2 separate regions of the Homo sapiens genome follow, and region 2 is linked to region 1. Evidence: promoter capture Hi-C in human tissues and cell types (Jung and others, 2019). All regions are on one chromosome and are shown on one strand. Each heading gives the region's core, a stretch centred on a gene start or on the middle of the fragment in contact. The rest is flanking DNA. Distances are from core to core; before and after follow the strand shown. Region 1 holds the start of MFAP1 (microfibril associated protein 1). Region 2 overlaps CTDSPL2 (CTD small phosphatase like 2).

The links. The method cuts DNA at HindIII sites, captures the fragments that hold promoters and counts their contacts. A contact is called where the count stands out against the background at its distance.
Region 2: a fragment that was not itself captured here is called in contact with the fragment with the promoter of MFAP1 in region 1 in 1 of the 25 tissues and cell types used here (lymphoblastoid cells).

The regions. Positions count from the first base shown.
Region 1 is chr15:43,822,759-43,826,164 of GRCh38, reverse strand. It overlaps MFAP1 (microfibril associated protein 1), which reads left to right and starts at 1,475. Exons shown (of 9, transcript NM_005926.3): 1 at 1,475-1,674. The coding sequence starts at 1,596. RefSeq lists enhancers at 1,028-1,659, 1,412-1,671. The HindIII fragment of the contact is 35,410 bases long and covers 1-3,406 here.
Region 2 is chr15:44,445,103-44,448,586 of GRCh38, reverse strand. All of the region lies in intron 1 of CTDSPL2 (CTD small phosphatase like 2), which reads right to left. It also overlaps the pseudogene HNRNPMP1. Among named protein-coding and RNA genes, the nearest start is that of CTDSPL2, 19 kb to the right of the region's middle. The HindIII fragment of the contact is 6,367 bases long and covers 1-3,484 here.

The DNA.
Region 1 (3,406 bases), core at 226-2,725:
ATAAGATTCTGGCTATTCTCTTTAAGGTTCCTTCTAGCCCAAAACTGTTTCCTTGGTTGCTTAGTTGGGTCCCACACTGTTCCTTGCCTGAGATTTGTCCAGTTTCATTTCTTCTCCCACTCAAGGCCCAATTGTAGAACACAGGTGAAGTAATTTGGGTTAATCATATTAATAGCAACTTCAAGGCCCCTCATGACTCAAAAATTACTGATAAAACCAAACTTTTCATGGTGTCCTGTATAAAACATACTGTTTCTGGACTTTAAGACTTTGTTCCTACTGTCCCTTGTCTCCCCCGCAGTTATAAAGTCCTTTCTACTGTGAAATGTGTCCTGACTTTCCAATTAGCCAATATTATATATATTTTTTAACACGACTCAGCTTGTAAATTGGAGCTGCTTCTGTTATTATCCTGTAAGTCCTTAAAGAGTTCTTAAATAGGCCGGGTGCGGTGGCTCACCTCTGTAATCCCAGCACTTTGGGGAGGCCGAGGTAGGTGGATCATCTGAGGTCAGGAGTTCAAGACCAGCCTGGGCAACATGGCGAAACCCTGCCTCTACTAAAAATACAAAAATTAGCCGGGAGTGGTGGCCCACGCCAACACTCAGCACTGTGGGAGGCCGGAGTGGGCGGATCACTTAAGCCTGGCCAACATGGTGAAACCTCGTCTCTACTAAAAATACAAAAATCAGCAGGGAGTGGTGGCAGGCGCCTGTAATCCCAGCTAATCAGAAGGCTGAGGCACGAGAATTGCTTAAACCCGGGAGGTGGAGACTGCAGTGAGCTGAGATCGAGCCACTGCACTCCAGCCTGGGTGACAGAAAAAGACAGTCTCAAAAGAATAATAATTACTTAGATATTTAAATACAAACATTTTCTAGCCAGGAATGTATTTTAATAGGTAGTTTCCAGAAACTGGAAAAACCTGAAAGCCTAAAAAAGTGGAGTTTTGGGATTTCAGGTGGGCAATGTCCCAGGCACCTCGGGAGTTTTTTTTTTTTTTTTTTCGGTCACTGGCCTAAATCAGCACCACCTGCCCTGTGAAACCAAATACCGCACCACAGCCCACCCTGGCCTTATGAACTAAGCTAATCGGATACTACTGGCAAGATTTTTATTCCATCAAACTCTACTTCTTCTGAGCTTTCAACAAGCCATTCAAACAGTAACTCACTGTCGCCTGAGTTTCTTATTCACTATACCGTTCTTGGCTTCAAACCAAGCTAACACGTAAAATCTTTCATTCGAACCTTCCTCACCGCAGAGTCCTAACAGCAAAGCCCAAAGGAAGCAAAATTTCCCGCCAAAAGCTGCTTCCAAATTCTGCGACGTAGAGGACATGCGGGCAGCCAATGAGCATGCGCAGAAACCGACTCGACTTCCTAGCTGTGGGCGCCCAAACGTCGTCCACCATCCCACAATCCTCTCGTCACGTATTTCCGGTTTATCTAGCTCAGCCGTAAGTAGTTTCTCTATCAGTCGCGCAGCTGTGTTCGCGGACTCAGGTGGAAGGAATTTCTTCTCTTCGTTGACGTTGCTGGTGTTCACTGTTTGGAATTAGTCAAGTTTCGGGAATCACCGTCGCTGCCATCAACATGTCGGTCCCAAGCGCTCTCATGAAGCAACCGCCCATTCAGTCTACGGCTGGGGCCGTCCCAGTTCGCAATGAGAAAGGTACGGTGCTAACACCCTCTTCCCAGTCGAATTTTAACCCCTTCCGGCCCCAGCAACCTCCAGACCTCTCCCGGACAGACCACTCCAACCCCGCCAGCTCTTGAGATCTGGCTGCCAGATTCTTCGATCTTTCCACCCCCACCCACTTGCATCCGATCTTGTTCCTGTGGCCTGCTCTCGTATTCAGCAAGCACCTCTCTTCTGTTAGCCTCCACAAATTCCTTAGACTAATGTTACATATATATAATATATATTACACATATAAAAACATTAGGAACTTAAGTATATATCAGAATATATATGTCTAATATATATATGCTAGAATATATGTATTAGTCTAATATATATTATGATTAGAATATAATATCACTAATTACATATAATTACAAGAATTTATGTATTATTAGTGTAATTACTTAGGAACTTAAGTATATTATTAATCTAATAATTAGGAACTTAAGTATATATCAGAATATGTATATAATATCAGACTAGATAGATAGATAGAGAATGCCTGTTGGCAGGGCATTGTGCGGGATACAGTCCCTCTTTTGCTGTCCATAGAAGTCTGCTTATGCTGCCCAGGCTGGACTCGAATTCCTGGGGCTCAGGCTGTCCTCCTGCCTCAGCCTCCCGAGTAGATGCCGCCGTATCTAGTCTCAACATGGCTTTTGAGAATTATCTTTGGATCCCTATACATCTAATTCATTCATCTTAACAGCTTATGAATTCCATTGTATAAAATAAACTGTAATCCACACTTTATTCCCTACTGAGAGGCAGGTGGTTGTCCCCTTGTTCAAAAAAGTGCTGCGGCCAGGCACGGTGTCTTATGCCCATAAACCCAGCACTTTGGGAGGCTGAGGCGGGCTGAACACCTGAGGTCAGGAGTTCAAGACAGCCTGGCGATCATGGCGAAACCCCGTCTCTACTAAAAATACAAAAAATTAGCCATGCATGGTGGTGGGTACCTGTAATCCCAGCTACTTGGGAATCTGAGGCAGGAGAATTGCTTGAACCCGGGAGGTGGAGGTCGCAGTGAGCAGAGATCGCACCATTGCACTCCAGCCTGGGCCACAGTGTGAGACACTCTCTCAAAAAAAAAAAAAGAAAGTTCTGCAATTGTCATTCTCTAGCCAATACTAGCTTTATTTAGTACCTGTTGCCAATTGCTCCCCAAAGTAAGTTATAAGAACATAAGAATTTGTGGAGCACAGTGGCTTACACCTGTAATCTCAGCACTTCGGGAGGCTGAGGCAGGAGGATCGCTTGAGGCCAGGAGTTCAAGACCAGCTTGGGCAACATAGCGAGACCACCCCCCACCCCCGCCAATCTCTGCAAAAATAAAAATTAGGGCCCGGCGCGGTGGCTCACGCCTGTAATCCCAGCACTTTGGGAGGCTGAGGCTGGTGGATCACCTGAGGTCAAGAGTTCGAGACCAACCTGGCCAACGTGGTGAAACCGTCTCTACTAAAAATACAAAAATTAGCCAGGTGTGGTGGCAGGCGCCTGTAATCCCAGCTACTCGGTAGGCTGAGGCAGGAGAATCACTTGAACTCAGGGGGCAGAGGTTGCAGTGAGCCGAGATCGCACCATTGCACTCCAGCCTGGGGGACAAGAGCAAGACTTCGTCTCAAAAATAATAATAATAATAATAATTAAAAATTAGCGGGATGTAGTGATGTGCTCCTGCTACTTGGGGGAAGCCAAAGCAGGAGGATCACTTATGCTC
Region 2 (3,484 bases), core at 764-3,263, 620 kb before region 1:
GGGATGAACATGGGCAGAATAAAGGAAATCTTAGTAATACACTTAGGATAGGGAAGATCACTACAAAGCAGAGAGGAAGTGAAGGTGGAGGCAGCATCCCCAAAATCGAGAGGATGAGGCCCAAGCGCTGACTACACTGGGGGTGCCAGCATGGAATGCATGAGTCCAGGCCTGGGCCATGGTGTGGATCGTGTGGGTTCCAAGATGCAGCACATGGGTCTGGTCATGGACCGCATGGGCTTTGTGGAGCACAAAGGCTCCCACAGGGAGCGCATGGGCCTGCTGGGCCTTGACCAAATGGCCTCTAGCATCCAGCACACAGGCAAGGTCACGGAGCGCAGTGGCTCCGGCCTGGAGCACATGGGTGCCGGCATGGGCTTCAGCCTCAAGTGCACAGCTGCTCCCATTGACCATGTGGACCAAACCATTGAGCACATGGGCTCTGGTGTGGAGTGCATGGTTCCTGCAGGTATGGGGGCTGGCCTGGAGCACATGAGCCCCATGATGGATCACATGGCCACTGGCCTGGAGCACATAGGTGCCAACAACCTGGAACATCCGGATGGAACTGGGGTGGACGGGTGCCAACAGTCTGGAGAGGATGGGCATTAACAGCCTTGAGTGCATGGGTCCCGTCATGGGCCAGACACTGGGTGCTGAGACTGGGTGTATGGGCCTAGCCATGGATGGTGGTGGCCATGTCAGCTTTGACTGCGCCCACTTAAACTCTGGAGGAAGTTTGGCAGGGTCCTTTGGTGAGGCTGGAGGCCATGCTCCTGGCGGTGGCCAGGAAAGCCTACCAGGTATTTGTGAGAAATCTCCCATTTGATTTTACATGATCAAATTGACAAATACGGCCATGTGCTATAACCCAACATCAAGATGAAGAATGTGAAGTCCAAGGGATGTGGTTTGGTTAAGCTTGAGTTGCCAGAGGTGGCTGAGAGCCTGTCAGATGATGACTGGCACGAAGCCGAGTGGCCAAGAGATTGATGGGCAAATCGATAGAAATATGCCTTTTTTAAACATCAATATTTTGTATTTTTTTCTTGTTAACTATTTTAACTTGTTGGCTGGATATATAAAGATGTTTTAAAAATTCTGTTGCTTTTTGATGAAATCTGAATTACTTTTTTACTTTTTAAGGACTGGGGTTCTATTTGAACGTTTGCATTGAGATTGTAATATGCAAATTTTTTTGTAGTTGTGGCAACTTGCTGACATCAAACATAACTTTGATAATAAATACCAGTTGCTGGAAAAATAAAAAAAGAAAACCAATTCTCAATCTATTCTTTTCCAAAAAAGTTCTAAAATACTATATTTACCTGAACATGAAAAGGTTCCTATGTGCAAGGCACTGTGATAAATGCTTTCTCATGTTATTTCACTTAACCTTCTCAACCACATAAAGTAGTGTCTGTTATTTCCATTTTATGAAAGAAAAAGTATAAGGGGAGAAGACAGCAGAAGTGTTTTAAGTAAAAATTTCCACATAATTTCAATATAAATAACTTGCAATGTGAAAATAATATATTTATAACCAACAAAACATTTTAACTGATTAAAAAGTTACCAGGCTGGGTGCAGTGGCTCACGAGGTCTGGAGTTCGAGACCAGCCTGGCCAACATGGTGAAACTCTGTCTCTACTAAAAATACAAAAATTAGCTGGGCATAGTGGCAGGCACCTGTAATTCCAGCAACTTGGGAGGCTGAGGCAGGAGAATCACTTGAATCCGAGAGCAGAGGTTGCAGTGAGCTGAGATCACACCACTGCACTCCAGCCTGGGCAACAGACTGAGACTCCGTCTCAAAAAAAAAAAAAAAAAAAGTTCCCCAAGATTCCAATTTCCCTTTCTCTTTCTCTCTTTTTTTTTTTTGCCTGTTCCCTCTTCTGAGCCAGCAATTTCCCATTTTTCTCTAAGGTTTTTTGTTTGTTTGTTTGTTTGATTGTTTGAGATAGAGCCTTGCTCTGTCACCCAGGCTGGAGTGCAGTGGTTCTATCTCAGCTCACTGCAACCTCTACCTCCCAGGTTTAAGCAGTTCTCCTGCCTTGGCCTCCCAAGTAGCTGGGATTACAGGCGCATGCCACCACACCCGGCTACTTGTTTTCTATTTTTAGTAGAGACGGGGTTTTGCCATGTTGGCCAGGGCGGTTTCGAACACCTGACCTCAAGTGATCTGCCTGTCTTGGCCTCCCAAAGTGCTGGGATTACAGGCGTGAGCCACCGCACCCAGCCAGGTTTGTTTTTTACTTCTGCCTTTTGTCTGAATGGTCCATTGGAATGGGTAATTTTTCAGCTGAACCCCTGGCTGAACAAAACCTTAAGATAAAATTAACCTGTAAAAGCTGTAAGTTTATGGCAGGGCATGGTGGTTCATACCTGTAATCCCAGCACTTTGGGAGGTCGAGGTGGGTGGATCACGAGGTCAGGAGTTCGAGAACTGCCTGGTCAATATGGTGAAACCCTGTCTCCACTAAAAATACAAAAATTAACCAGGCGTGGTGGTGGGCTCCTGTAGTCCCAGCTACTTGGGAGGCTGAGGCAGAAGAATCGCTTGCACCCGGGAGGTGGAGGCTGCAGTGAGCCTAGATCGCGCCACTGCACTCCAGTCTGGGTGACAAAGCGAGAAAAAAAAAAAAAAAAAGGCCAGGCACAGTGGCTCACGCCTGTAATCCCAGCAGTTTGACAGGCCGAGGCAGGTGGATCATGAAGTCAGGCATTCGAGACCAGCCTGGCCAACAAAGTGAAACCCTGTCTCTACTAAAAATACAAAAAATTAGCTGGGCATGGTGGTGGGCGCCTGTAATCCCAGCTACTCGGGAGGCTGAGGCAGGAGAACAGCTTGAACCTGGAAGACGGAAGCTGCAGTAAGCCAAGATCGTGCCACTGCACTCCAGCCCAGGCGACAGTGCGAGACTCCATCTCAAAAAAAAAAAAGCAAAAAAAAAGCTGTGTTTTCAAATTGGCTGGTATGAGCTCAAAATTAAACTTCTGATAGAAACAATGTTACAAATACAGAGTAGAGTTCCAGGGCAGCTCCTATGTACATAGTTAACCCATAATATAACTGAATTCAAAAATCTAGAACCTAGGCCAGGTACAGTGGCTCACACCTGTAATGCCAGCACTTTGGGAGGCCAAGTCAGGTAGACCACTTGAGCCCAGGAGTTCGAGACCAGCCTGGGCAACATGATGAAACCCTGTATCTACTAAAAATACAAAAAAATTTGCTAGGTGTGATGGTGCATGCCTATAGTCCCAACTACTTGGGAGGCTGAGGTGGGAGGATCACCTGAGCCTGGGAAGTCGAAGCTGCAGTAAGCTGTGACTGCGTCACTGCACTGCAGACAGGGCAACAGCCGGAGTGAGACTCTGTCTCAAAAAGAAAAAAAAAAATCTGGAACCTAACCTATTATACAAATAATATGAAAAACTACAGCCGGGCGGGGTGGCTCACACCTGTAATCCCAGCACTCTG